3 separate regions of the Homo sapiens genome follow, and regions 1 and 3 are each linked to region 2. Evidence: promoter capture Hi-C in 16 types of primary human blood cells and fetal thymus (Javierre and others, 2016). All regions are on one chromosome and are shown on one strand. Each heading gives the region's core, a stretch centred on a gene start or on the middle of the fragment in contact. The rest is flanking DNA. Distances are from core to core; before and after follow the strand shown.

The links. The method cuts DNA at HindIII sites, captures the fragments that hold promoters and counts their contacts. A CHiCAGO score of 5 or more calls a contact.
Region 1: a fragment that was not itself captured here is called in contact with the fragment with the promoter of CNGB1 in region 2 in 1 of 17 cell types (neutrophils); the score reaches 8.7 in neutrophils.
Region 3: a fragment that was not itself captured here is called in contact with the fragment with the promoter of CNGB1 in region 2 in 1 of 17 cell types (neutrophils); the score reaches 5.9 in neutrophils.

What each region holds. Positions count from the first base shown.
Region 1 is chr16:57,767,089-57,771,719 of GRCh38, forward strand. It overlaps KIFC3 (kinesin family member C3), which reads right to left. Exons shown (of 20, transcript NM_001130100.2): 5 at 4,455-4,598; 6 at 4,110-4,349; 7 at 3,439-3,612; 8 at 2,720-2,867; 9 at 2,507-2,637. Among named protein-coding and RNA genes, the nearest start is that of MIR6772, 2.9 kb to the right of the region's middle. The HindIII fragment of the contact is 3,756 bases long and covers 1-3,199 here.
Region 2 is chr16:57,968,323-57,972,418 of GRCh38, forward strand. CNGB1 (cyclic nucleotide gated channel subunit beta 1) reads right to left here and starts at 2,806. Exons shown (of 33, transcript NM_001297.5): 1 at 2,738-2,806. The HindIII fragment of the contact is 12,254 bases long and covers 1-4,096 here.
Region 3 is chr16:57,748,936-57,753,514 of GRCh38, forward strand. It overlaps KATNB1 (katanin regulatory subunit B1), which reads left to right. Exons shown (of 20, transcript NM_005886.3): 5 at 1,892-1,992; 6 at 2,326-2,367; 7 at 2,706-2,789; 8 at 3,005-3,120; 9 at 3,595-3,666; 10 at 3,843-3,993; 11 at 4,142-4,332; 12 at 4,454-4,579. Among named protein-coding and RNA genes, the nearest start is that of KATNB1, 15 kb to the left of the region's middle. The HindIII fragment of the contact is 8,006 bases long and covers 1-4,579 here.

The DNA.
Region 1 (4,631 bases), core at 72-2,571, 200 kb before region 2:
GTACCTGACACACGCTGTCACATGTCAGACTGTCCCAATCACCCCTCTGGGTAGGTACTGCTACCATCCCCATTTTACAGATGATGAAACTGAGCCGCAGACACTAAGCTGACAGCTTGAGGCTGCTCTGCTAATAAGCATAGAGCCAGGACTCAGCCCTCCACACCACAGCACTAGTGCTTGACTATGTGATTCAGCCAGACTCAAATTCCAACTCTGCCCCTGAGTAGCTGGGGACCTGAGACCACTGGCTCAATGTCTTTAAGCCTCAATTTTCTCATCTGGAAAGCAGGGATAATACCATCTAACTCATGAATCTGTAAAGATCTCCCAGTTACATTTCACAGGTAGAAAAAAGATGCAAAATCACACATACAGTATCACACTGTACACAAATCACACATCCCCTTTCTGGAGTAGAAGGGAAGTGTATACAGTGTATACAGTCTTCCCTTAGTAACCGTGGAGGATACAAAAATCCACAGATGCTCAAGCCCCTGATATAAAATGATATAGTGTTTGCCTATAACCTACACACATCCTCCCATATACTTTATTTTTTTTGAGACAGGGTCTTGCTCTGTTGCCCAGGCTGGAAGTGCAATCACAGCTCCATGGATGTGGTGGAAACTCATTGTGAGTGGTGTTATCTTGGCTCACTGCAGCCTTGACCTCCCAGACCCAAGCAATCCTCCCACCTCAGCCTCCCGAGTAGCTGGGACTACAGGTGCAGGCAACCACACTCAGCTAGTTTTTTTATATTTTTTTGTAGAGATGGGGTCCCACTATGTTGCCGAAGCTGGTCTTGAACTCCTGGGCTCAAGTGCTCCTCCTGCCTCAGCCTCCCAAAGTGTTGGGATTACAGGTGTGAGCCACTGTGCCCAGCCCCTCCCATGTACTTTAAATCATCTCCAGGTTACTTATAATATCTAATACAATGAAAATGCTGGGTAGGGGCTGGGTGCAGTGGCTCATGCCGGTAATGCCAGCACTTTGGGAGGCGGAGGTGGGCGGATCACCTGAGGTCAGGAGTTCAAAACCAGCCTGGCCAACATGGTGAAGCCCAGCCTCTATTAAAAATACAAAACAAACAAACAAACAAACAAAACTAGCCCGGCATGGTGGCACACGCCTGTAATCCCAGCTATCCAGGAGGCTGAGGCAGGAGGGTCGCTTGAACCCGGGAGGTGGGGGTTGCAGTAAGCTGAGATCCCGCCATTGCACTCCAGCCTGGGCAACAAGAGTGAAACACTGTCTCAAAAACAAAAAAATGCTGTGTAAATAGTTGTTATATGTTATTTTTTATTTCTATTATTTCTAATTGTTGTACTGTTAATTTTTTTCAACTATTTTTGATCTGTGGTTGTTTGAATCTGGGAATGCAGAACCTGTGGATGGGGGAAGGGCCTACCATATATTCTCACACACACACACACACACACACACACGCACAATTGGCTTAAGCATGCTCAGAACAGTCGGGGGAAATGCTGAGAGGCCACATTGGAAGAGTTGGGTGGGTGGCAGAGAGGCCTTTCCTATTCACCTGATGCCCTGCTATGGAGTTTGACTTTTCACCACGTCCATGTATTACTGATATAGTCTTTTAAAGGAGAAGAACTATATTCTGTTCCCAAAATATATTAGTCTTTGCAAAGCTATCATACAAATTCAAGGAGCTAACGGCTATAAACAGCTCGACATGTAGGAGGCACTTAAGAGGCACTGGTTATTCTCATATGTACAAGTACAGCTTGAAAGAATTAAGTTAAACCTAACAGAGGTAAGACTGTATCGGCCAGTCATGGTGGCTCACACCAATAATCTCAGCACTGCGGGAGGCCAAGGCAGGAGGACTGCTTGAAGCCAGGAGTTCAAGACCAGCCTCGGCAACATAATGAACCCTGTCTCTAATAAATAATTTTTTTAAAAAATACGTATGTAGCATGTTTTTTGTTTGTTTTTGAGATAAAGTCTCGCTGTCACACAGGCTGAAGTGCAGTGGCATGATCTTGGTTCACCGCAACCTCCGCCTTCTGGGTTCAAGTGATTCTCCTGCCTCAGCCTCCCGAGTAGCTGGAATTAACAGGCACCTGCCACCCATGCCCAGCTAATTTTTGTAATTTTAGTAGAGACGAAGTTTCGCCTTGTTGGCCAGGCTGGTCTCAAACTCCTGACCTCAAGTGATCCGCCTGCCTCGGCCTCCCAAAGTGTTGGAATTACAGGTGTGAGCCACCGCGCCTGGCCTGCATGTTTGAAATATGAAGTTATCTGTAACATGTTTGGTTTAAAGAATCATAGTAAGACAAATAGCCGAATGCCTGCCCTGAGCAGTCTAGTTTCAAACAGGGCCTATAAGGGCAGCAGTAAGTGTCATGGGGGGTGGGGCAGGGGCTGCTGTCTGAGCGGCTTTGTCTGAGCTTTGGAGGGACGCCCTGAGTGGATGTCGTGCCTCTCCCAGTGCACCCCCTTAGCCTGGACCCTCCCACCCACTGCCCTCGCTCACCTCGGCCTTGACACTCCTGAGGGCCTCCTGCAGCAGCAGTGGGAAGCCGCGCACCTGCCGCTTGAGCCCATTGTAGTCGTTGGTGAGGGTCCGCAGTGCCGGCTGCAAGGTCAGCAAGTTGGTCCGGACGCCTATGGGGACACTCGGGCTGTGAGGCGGGAGGGGATGAGGGGCCGCGGCGTGGGGCAGACAGGGCCCAGCTGGTCAGCTCACCTGCTAGATTCTCGTGCACAGCCTTCATCTCCACCTGGGCTCTGGCAAAGGCCTCCTCAATGGCCCGGTTCTTGTCCTCTTCCAGGGACTGCATCTCCTCCAGCATCTGCCCATGGGCCCGCTCCAGCTCTGACTCGTACATGGCAATCTGGCCAGACCAGGAAAAGGCTCAGTACCTCGAGGTGCGGGAGAGAGAGGGGCAGGTGCCACACCGAGAAAGAAACTGGTCACCTCCCATGCACATGAACACACATGCACACACACATGTGCACACCCAGAGGGGCAGAATGGCCTTGTCTCCCTCCCCCTACAGGGCTGTGAGCTCTGGGCATTGGCTCCAACACCAACCCAGTGCTGAGCACACATCAGGTGCCCAAGCCACGTGCCCTCAGGAAGGTAGGAGAGGGCCTCTGTGATGACAGTGACAAGTGCCATGTAGAGCTTACTGAGCACAGCCTGTGTGCTGGGCCGTGGGCACAAAGCTTCTTGGGATGACGTTCCTGAGTCCCCACTGTGAGGTGGGTTCTGGGACCAGATCGTGTTATAATAGATGAGGAAAAGGAAACCAGACAAAACTTGCCCTGGGTCCCGTGGCCATCGGGGAGAGGAGGGACTGGACCCCGTGTCTGTGGGGTACCCAAATGTTTAACCGATGCATTGGCCCAAGGGCCTGCCTCTGGCTTCCTGGCTGGGCATGTGCCCCCACACAGCCTGGGTACCTGCGCCCGGAGCCGCGCGGTCAGCTGGTGTGAGCTCTGCAGCTGCTGTTCCATCTCCTTCAGCACCTGCCTCTGCATAGCCACCTGCTCCTGCAGGTGCTGGTTCCGGGCCTGGGACTCGCTGAGGGCCTGCTTGGTCTTGGACGACTCCACCTCCACTGTCTTGATGACATACTGCAGGGTGAGGGAGGAATGGCACGTGGAGCCAGCGGGCACCGTACCTCACCCAAGAGCCTGAGACGCAGCAGGCCAGGGGAAGGAACTCTCGGGAACATCCCACTCAGAAACCAGAAAAAAACTAGAGGAGCCTTGAGGTCCTGGCTTTCCAGAAAGCTGGGGGGGTCTCCTGGAACCTTCTCAGCTTAACAAGAGGCTACTATGAGCCTGGCTGGGGCCCCATCCTGGGTACAGACAAGAAAGGCAAAAAGACGAGGGCAGAATCCAGGGGCTGCGCTGCATCTGTGCCTGGCACCTCAGCTGTTGGATACCTACTCGGTGCCTGGCCCTGGATACAGGAAGGGGAAGGGGCAGGACCAAGCACAGAACTGGAATGATTCTTCCACCCACACACACCTACCTATTCACCAGGACAAGCCCCCCTTATGGGCTAGCCCTGCCCCAGGTGCCAGGGGCCTTGGGCTGAGGCACAGATCAGGTGGGCCAGGGCTCACCTTGACAGGTGGGGACTGGGCCCGCAGGCTGGCAATGGTCTCGTGGCTGTCACGCAGGCGCCGACTAAGCCGCTCCTCCTCCTGTGCCTTCTCAGCCAGGCAGTCCTTGAGTCGCAGCTCCACCTCAGCCAGCCGGTCGGTCTTCTGCTGCACCTCTAGGTTCAGCTCTGACAGCATGCCTTTGCTTTCCGCCATCTCCAGCTGCAGCTGGGACAGCTTGTCACGGAGCTGGGCGCTCTCCTGCAGCCATTGGGAGGCACTGGATGAGTGCAAGGGACAGGCTCACTGTGAGGAGCTGGGGTGGCCCTCCAGGACCAGCATGGGGACCACGGCCATTCTGCTCACCTGGCTGTGCTCACAACCTGGGCAGGGACCTGCTGGCTTTGTGCGCAGCTCTTGCAGCTCGGCCTCACAGCGCCGCATCTCCTGCCTCAGTCGCTCATTCTCCACCATCAGCAGGTCCCGGTGCTTCTCCAAGTCGGTGCCCCCCTGCAGAGAGCCAGGGCCGAGGGGGCGCATGTG
Region 2 (4,096 bases), core at 1,556-4,055:
CCCTTGTCTACTAAAAATACAAAAATTAGCTGGGCATGGTTGCAGGCACCTGTAATCCCAGCTACTCAGGAGGCTGAGGCATGAGAATCTCTTGAACCCAGGAGGTAGAGGTTGCAGTGAACCAAGATCGTGCCACTGCACTCCAGCCTGGGTGACAGAGTGAGATCCTGTCTCAAAAATAATAATAATAATAATAAATGTAACATACTCAGAACAGTGACTGGCACATGCCGAGGGCTTAATAAATGTTGACTATGACTATTACATGGTATCAAATGAAAACACTAATTGTGTAATATGCATGTACTACATAATCTCATTATAAGTAAAAATATTCATTATGAGTAATTACATGAGTGGAAAATCTGTCTTAAGATAAACTTAACCTATGTTCATCATTTTTTAATTTTTAAGATAAAATGGGCTGGGTGCAGAGGCTCATGCCTGTGATCCCAGCACTTTGGGAGGCCAAGATGGGAGGATCACTTGAGCTCAGGAGTTCGAGACCACTGTGGGCAACATATCAAGACCCTGTCTCTATTTAAAAAAAAAAAAAAAAAAAGCCTGTTATGGTGGTGTGCACCTGTAGTCCCAGCTACTCAGGAGGCTGAGGCAAGGGGTCGAGGCTTCAGTGATCATGCCACTGCACTTCTGCCTGGGTAACAAAGCAAGATCCTGTCTCAAAAAAAGAAAAAAAAATGGGCCTGTTGTGGTAGCTCACGCCTGTAATCCCAGCACTTTGGGAGGTGAAGGCAGGCAGATCACCAGAGGTCAGGAGTTCGAGATCAGCCTAGCCAACATGGTGAAACCCCATCTCCACTAAAAATACAAAAATTAGCTGGGTGTGGTGGTGTGCACTTGTAATCCCAGCTACTCCGGAGGCTGAGGTGGGAGAATCACTTGAACCCGGGAGGCAGAGGTTGCAGTGAGCCGAGATCGTGCCACTGCACTCCAGCCTGCCTGGGTGACAGAGCAAGACTCCTTCTCAAAAACAAACAGACAAACAAAAAGGCTGGGCATGGTGTGGCTCACACCTGCAATCCCAGCACTTCAGGAGGCTGAGGCAGGCAGATCGCTTGAGCTCAGGAGTTCGAGACCAGCCTGGGCAACATGATGAAACCCTGTCTCTACCAAAAATACAAAAAATTAGCCCAGCGTGGTGGCACGTGCCTGTAGTACCAGTTACTCGGGAGGCTGAGGCACGAGAATCACTGGAGCCCAAAAGGTGGAGATTGCACTCAGCCATTGCACTCCAGCCTGGTCGACAGAGTAAGACCCTGTCTCAAAACTGAAATAAAATGCTTATAGTGCTATATTTTAAAAAAAGAAAGAAAGAAAAAGATAAAATGCCAGGTAAGACTTTTTTCATGATATACTGTGTTATTTCAGTCCTACCTTAAGTACAGGTTGTTTCTGGTTGATTTCTCCTTGGGGAATGGGGAGCCCCAGCCCTTATGACTGAACCCCTGCAGGATGGCCTGGCCAGTGCGCAGCGTGCAGGTCAGTGTGTGCTAACTCCTAGCCCTAGATGTGTTCTTGCCCCACATGAGTGTGCCCCACCCCTCTCCCAGCCATGGGCAACCCGGGCTTTGGCAGAGAGTCTGTATGCCCCTTTCTGCCAGGGACCCTGGCCCCAGCTGAAGAGGGCAGCCCAGGCCCAGGATCCTTGCCCCCAAGCCCAGCTCCCCAGAGCCCACGGCTGTGCTGCCTGTCCTCTACTTACAGCCCTGACCTCTGTTCCCACTCTGGCATCAGCAGCCCAGCCTCTCCCACGAGAGGCTGTGGTGGGAACACAGCTCTAAGTGTCAGATCCCTGGCTCAGCCTCCCAAAAAATGAACTTGGGCCAGACATGACCCCTCTGGTCTTCCATTTCCCTGAAGGTGGGGGCACAGACACAATGTTTTCCCAGGTCGGGACTGCCAGAGCTCACATGTTGGGATAGCAGATTTCACTGACCCCAGCCAGCCCCAGGCAGCCCCGAGAGCCAGGGCTGAGCTAAGTGCATTCTACCCATGATCATACTCATCCTCGCTCTCACCACCACGCCCCGCCCAGCCCCTGCACTCAGTAAAATAAGAATTTTCATTATGTAGCACAGAAAGGTCAACAGAATCGCCTGAAGCAGCACAGCCGGCAGTGGCCAACTTGAGTTTACACTCAGGTCTGCCCGATTCCAGCTGCCCCACATGTATTCCCAGGTAGTCGTGGCATTTGCCGAGTGTTGGCCTCTTCCGCGGGCCAGGCCTGTAGACCCTTCCCAGCAGGCAGCAATTCTCGCTTGCATTTCTAAACCTTCTGGAAATGACTAAGGAAGCCTCCCCGATCCCCCATTTTTCTTTTTCCTCCTAAATGAGAATTTTTGCAGGTCCCTCCCATCTTTCACCCGTGTCCCTGCTGACTGCACTTTGATGAGGGAGGCTCAGGTGGGAAGGGGGACCCACGAGTGGCAGCTCGGGGAGCCATGGTGTTGCACCACCAGCATTTCCAGAGTCTTCTGGAGAGCTAGTGAAAATATAGATTCCTAGGTCCCCCAAGTCCTCCTGGGGGACCTAGGAATTTGCATTGTACAAGCTGTCCTGAAAATTCTGATGCCCGCTAAAGTCCAAGCTCCACCAGATAGAGGGAAGCCACAGGTTTCCCACCGTGCCAGTTTGGTCCTACCTAAATGCCTTTCTAGAGGGAGAACATGGGGATCCCCTCGGGGTCCCACCGAGCCTCCACCTCACCCTGAGTTACCTGCTTAGATGCCAACCGCCAGCCAGGAATTGCCTTCTTGCTGCCACTCGTAGCTGGCCCCTCAGACACAAGGAAGATTAATTGGCAGTAGCTGGGCCGTGTGCAAAGGATTAGCAGGTGCTGAATGGGGGAGGGGGAGAAAAGAGGCTGTTGATGCCCAGGAAACCAGCAGCACCTCCCAACTCCCAGGGTCCAGCAAGGATGTGGGCCCCAGGGAAGGGCTCCTGCATGGCCCAGGTTTGGAGCACCATGGGTTGCCAGGGGACCTGCCCGGCTTACCAGGGGCCTGGCTTCCCATACACCTTGGCCAAGACACGGAGTGGCTGATGGGAGAATAACAGCTTGGAGTTCCCATGTGATGCCTGGAGACTCCTCATGGTAGCAGGGGCTTGTCAGCTCCCACTCAGCGGTGGCAAGAGGTGTACCCCAACTCTCCAGCCCCCAGGCCAGGACGCAGGCAGGTTCTTTCTGGCTTAGAGTCTTCTCTGGGCAGGGTCTCAGCAGCCCTGCCTTGGGCTCTGCCAGAAAGGCTGTGTCCCAGGCCTGGGCCTTGAGGATGGATCCAAGACCCGGCAGATGACTGAGGCATCTGACCTGCCCTGTGAACTGAGGCTGGACACTTGAAGGGATACAGAGATCTAGGAGGAGAGGGTGCAAGGGACAGGGCCCAAGGAAGAGGGGCTCAGTGTGGTGGCCCTGAGGGATATTTGGCAAAGGGCAGGACTTGACTTAATTATCCGCACCATTTCTAGAGTTCTTCCTTTCCTTTCCTTTCCTTTTTTTTTTTTTTTTTTTAAGCCACAGTCTCTCTCTGTCACTCAGGCTAAGTGAAGTGGTGCAATCACAGCTCATTGCAGCCTCAACCTCTCAAACTCCTGGATGCAAGCAATCCTCCTGCCTCAGCCTCTCATAGTATTGGGATTACAGATGTAAGCCCCTGCACCTGGCCTAGAGCTCTTCCTTTGTGCCTGGCAGTGTGCCAGCCTTGGCACACTGAGCAAGACAGACATAGGCCCTGTCCTCATGGAGCTTACATTCCAATGGAGGAGATTACTGACAAATAAAGAATATTGCAAATTATGCTAAGTGCCATAAAAGAAACAAACAGGGCAGAAGCATGTTGTGGAGGGCAGTAGGGGCAGGTAGGCAGGCCCCTATGACGAGGTGGATGTATATTTGAACTGAGACATGAAAAGTAAGAAAGACTCAGCTGTGAAAAAAGCTGGGTGAGTGGTGCTCCAGGCCAAGGACACTGCAACGAGAAAGGTTCTGAGGCTGGAATGAGCCTTGAGGAGCAGAATGGGAACCGGGGAGCCTGGAGCTTAACGGGTGCAGGGGAGAGTGGTGGGAGATGAGGTT
Region 3 (4,579 bases), core at 1,854-4,353, 220 kb before region 2:
CCAGCGTGGCCTCCTTGGCCAGGAGGCAATGCCCAGCCCCCAGCAGCACCTGATAGCTACACGGAGCAAGGAGTGACAGCTGCAGAGATTCTGGTGCAGGTGAATTGGATATGCATTCGACAGACTCCAGAGGGATGTGAAAGTATCCAGACCCAGCTCCAGCGCCAGACAGGGCCAGCTGCAGAGGGGCACTGAGGCCTGGGGAGGAGGAGAGAAGGCCCAGCTTGCGGGACAGCCAAGAGCAGAAGGCAGGCCTTGTGCAGGAAGAAATGTGAATGGGACTAATTAAGACTGGCATTTATTGAGCACTTACCATGTGCAGAGCCCGTGCTAAGCACTTTATGTATGTTTACTCCATTCTGTGACCCAACATGAGGCCCAAAGACAGTAAGTGATTGGCCAGGGTCACACCACCAGTGAGGAGCGGAGCCAAGGCTGATCCCAGTATTGTCTGATGCCAGAGCCCACATCCTGACTTTGGGGGTAGAGAAGATCATACAGTAGAGTTCATTTAATTCACCCAGTGCTTGGATCTTGACTCTGCAGTAAAGTGTTATATATGGAATCTTGAATACCTCCTCTGACAGAGAGCTCACTACCTCACAAGGTGACCTATTGCACCTTGGCTCAAAACTAAGAATGGCTGGACTCCCACATTTCCTGACCCTGGCACTTGGGATGGTCAGTTTCATTCAGATAGTGAATTATGAATCTTTCCAAAAGCAGGAAACATGAGACAAATCTGAGTGGTACTGGAGGACACCCTGAAACACACAAGGTTTGCCTCCAGGCTGGGCCGCTCCTGGCCATGGAGATGCCTGCAAAACCTTCAAGGAAAGGATAGGAGATGTGGTTCCTAGGGCAGTGGGAGGCGATCAGGCCCCACCCCAGGAGTTCTTTGGTCCTCGCGTGTCCTCCCTGTGTCCTCTCAGTTCTCACTGCTCCTCAGTGTGTCCTCACAGCCACCCTCAAGATCCCTTGGACAGAGGTCACCCAAGAAGACTGGTGTGTGCACCAGGGCCACCCCAGCCATGCCCTCCACTTGCCCTTCTTAGGGCCTTTGCCCATCACCTCCATCTACCTAACAGCATCCCTCATCCTCCACCCACTGACATCTACTCAAATACCACCTCCTCCATAAAGCCTTCCTGGATTTCTCTTTCCAACCAAGCAGCTTCTCTCCCAGCTTGAACCTCTCCTGGTCTGTCTCTCTCCTTGCACTGTCTTGGGTGGGGTTCAGTGCCCTGCAAACCATAAGCTCCACACCCATGGGGCCTGAACTGAGTGTGGTGGTTCCCTGGTTCTGCTTCCGCTGGAGCACAGTCTGTGGGGAGAGTGTGGTACAATTTCTGCAGACTTGAGGTAACATAGGGCTGTCACCTCTCAAGAGAAATGTGGGAAAATTAGTTGTTGGCAGGACGCAGTGGCTCACACCTGTAATACCAGCGCTTTGGGAGGCCAAGGCGGGTGGATCACTTGAGGTCAGGAGGCCAGCCCAGCCAACGTGGTGAAAACCTATCTCTACCAAAAATATAAAAAAATTAGCCGGGTGTGGTGGCACATGCTTGTAATCCCAGCTACCTGGGAGGCTGAGGCAGGAGAATTGCTTGAACCCGGGAGGCAGAGGTTGCAGTGAGCCGAGATCACGCCATTGCATTCCAGCCTGGGCGACAGAGCAAGACTCCTTTTCAAAAAAAAGGAAGAAAAGAAAATTCGTTGTTAGGGTGGTGGGACCCTTGATTGTTTCCTACTGTTTTAAAAATGTGTGTTATTGTTCTATTTTTCTGTGCAGCTAATCCAAAAGCGCACACACAAATGCCCACAGCAGCCCTTCCTCTGCCAGCCTTCTCATTTGCCTCTTAGCCACTGTCTCTGCTTTCCTTCTTGTTAGTTCTTCGCACACTCATGGGACACAAAGCCAACATCTGCAGCCTGGATTTCCACCCGTACGGCGAGTTTGTAGCCTCTGGTTCCCAGGACACAAACATCAAGGTGAGAGGCCGGTCCGTGCCCCGTGTCTCCTGCTGGGCCTGTGGCAGGACCAGCCCGGCCCGGCCCTCAGTGCTGGATGCCTGCTGAGGGGACCTCTTCCCTTTCTGCAGCCACATCCACACCATCCTAGGGAAAGCGGGTGGCAGGCATCTATCTGCCAGATGCTTCTGCTCAGAATGCCAGCTTTAGTGAGCAGTTTCTGTCCTTGTCTCCGTGGGGAGTAACGACCTAGAGAAGGCTGGGCCCCACCGTCTGCTCACGACTGCACACCTTCCTCCAGTCGTGGCTCTGACCTCTCCTGACTCTGCCCCTCTGCTTCTCTCTCCCCCACAGCTCTGGGACATCAGGAGGAAAGGCTGTGTCTTCCGATACAGGGTAAGGATGCGCTCTGTCGGTGACTCCATGAGCACCTTGCGGGCATTGAGTGTGGTGTGGTGCCCAGACCCCAGCAGGGGGTGGAGGGGACGGCTGTCCCACATGGGTGATAACATAAAACATAGACCTGGAGCTGAGCAGGAGCGCCATGGGCGGCCCACCTGGATCCCCTGGCTCTGCATGAATCCCCTAGAGCCACGTTCATCAAACTGCTCCAAGCAGAACCAGGCGGGTAACCAGTGTTGTTAGATGGAAGGGGTCCCATAGGAGTGAGGAGGCAGGGAGAGGTCTGTTGGGCCCAGGATCCCAGGGTGAGCTCATGCCGTGTCCTCCCTCAGGGGCACAGCCAGGCCGTGCGGTGTCTCCGGTTCAGCCCCGATGGGAAGTGGTTGGCGTCGGCCGCAGATGACCACACCGTGAAGGTAGCTCCCGGCCTGACCTGGGCCCAGGGGCTGGGGGCTGGGGTCTGCTGATCACAGCAGGCTGAGTCCTCACCTCCCTCCTGATCGGGCTCACATGTCCCAAGCCTATCCCGAGTGGAAGGTAGCTTGTGGATAAAGAGCTTGGCCTGGATTAGAGGGAGGGTGGGCAGCCAAGATGCCTGGTCACCCTGACCTCCTCCCTGCCCTGCCTCCAGCTCTGGGATCTCACTGCCGGCAAGATGATGTCTGAGTTCCCTGGTCACACGGGGCCTGTCAACGTGGTCGAGTTTCACCCCAACGAGTACCTCCTGGCCTCCGGCAGCTCTGACAGGTGAGGAGGAGGAGCGAGGCGAGTTGCTTGTGACTGCTGTCCTTCACCGCCTTGTCCTCTGTGCGTGTCTCTACTGCCGGTCTGTCGCTGTCTGGGGTGTCATACGTCTGATGATCCTGTGTGGACTGAATTGGATTTCAGCCGAGCCAGGACTGGACCCTGGTCCATCTCCCCTGGCTCTGGTTCCCTGGCCCCAGTGTCCCAGGTCTGTGGCTTCATGGGCAGGTTGGGACCCAAGGCATCTAGTGGGACCCCATAGGGCAGGGAGGCTCGTGGCTGTTGGGGCCAACCCTGGGGCCAGGGCCATCGGGCCGAGCCTCCCCCTTGCAAAGTCAGGGCCAGCTCTGCCCCAGATGTTGCTCCTGGTGGCCCTGCCCTGGGGGAGAGGTTTCTAGAGAAAAGCTGGCTTCCCAGGGACATGTGGAGGCCAGGATGAGGGATAGGCTTCGCAGCACAGCTTGGCTGCCTTTGCAGGACAATCCGCTTCTGGGACCTGGAGAAGTTCCAGGTGGTGAGCTGCATCGAAGGGGAGCCTGGGCCCGTCAGGTACGCAGGCTGTGGGGTGGGCGGCCCAGCGCTCCTCCCGGCAGTGGGGCGTGGCTGTGGGTGGGCCTTTCCCATCTCCGCTGCTGCGCCCTCCCTGCCCTGGGCCCTCTGGATTCCTCGGGGTGGGGACCAGGCTGGGTGCCACAGGACCCACGGCCATCTCTCGCCTGGCCCAGGAGCGTCCTCTTCAACCCAGACGGCTGCTGCCTGTACAGCGGCTGCCAGGACTCACTGCGTGTCTACGGCTGGGAACCTGAGCGGTGCTTTGATGTGGTCCTCGTCAACTGGGGCAAGGTGGCCGACCTGGCCATCTGCAATGACCAGTTGGTGAGAGAGCCATGGCACCCACCGCCCCCCACTCCCACAGGGCCACCCGCCTCCCTCCAGCCCAGGCCCCTCCTCCTACCCCCACACTGGGGCTGGGATTTTGCCCCCTCGGCTTGCAGTCCCAGCCCCACCTCTCCGCTTTCTGCAGATAGGTGTGGCCTTCTCCCAGAGCAACGTCTCCTCCTACGTGGTGGATCTGACGCGTGTCACCAGGACTGGCACGGTGGCCCGGGACCCTGTGCAGGACCACCGGCCCCTGGCACAGCCACTGCCCAACCCCAGCGCCCCCCTCCGGCGCATCTATGAGCGGCCCAGCACAACCTGCAGCAAGCCTCAGAGGTGAGGGCCTGGGGGGCCTTCGGGGGCCCAGGAGAGGGACTGTCACAGGGGAAGCCTCGGAGTTCCAGCCCTGGGCCTCACAGGGCACCTGCTTCCGTTGGGCTTGGCCTCACGCTCCCAGGGTGAAGCAGAACTCAGAGAGCGAGCGCCGCAGCCCCAGCAGCGAGGATGACCGGGACGAGCGCGAGTCCCGCGCGGAGATCCAGAACGCCGAGGACTACAACGAGATCTTCCAGCCCAAGAACAG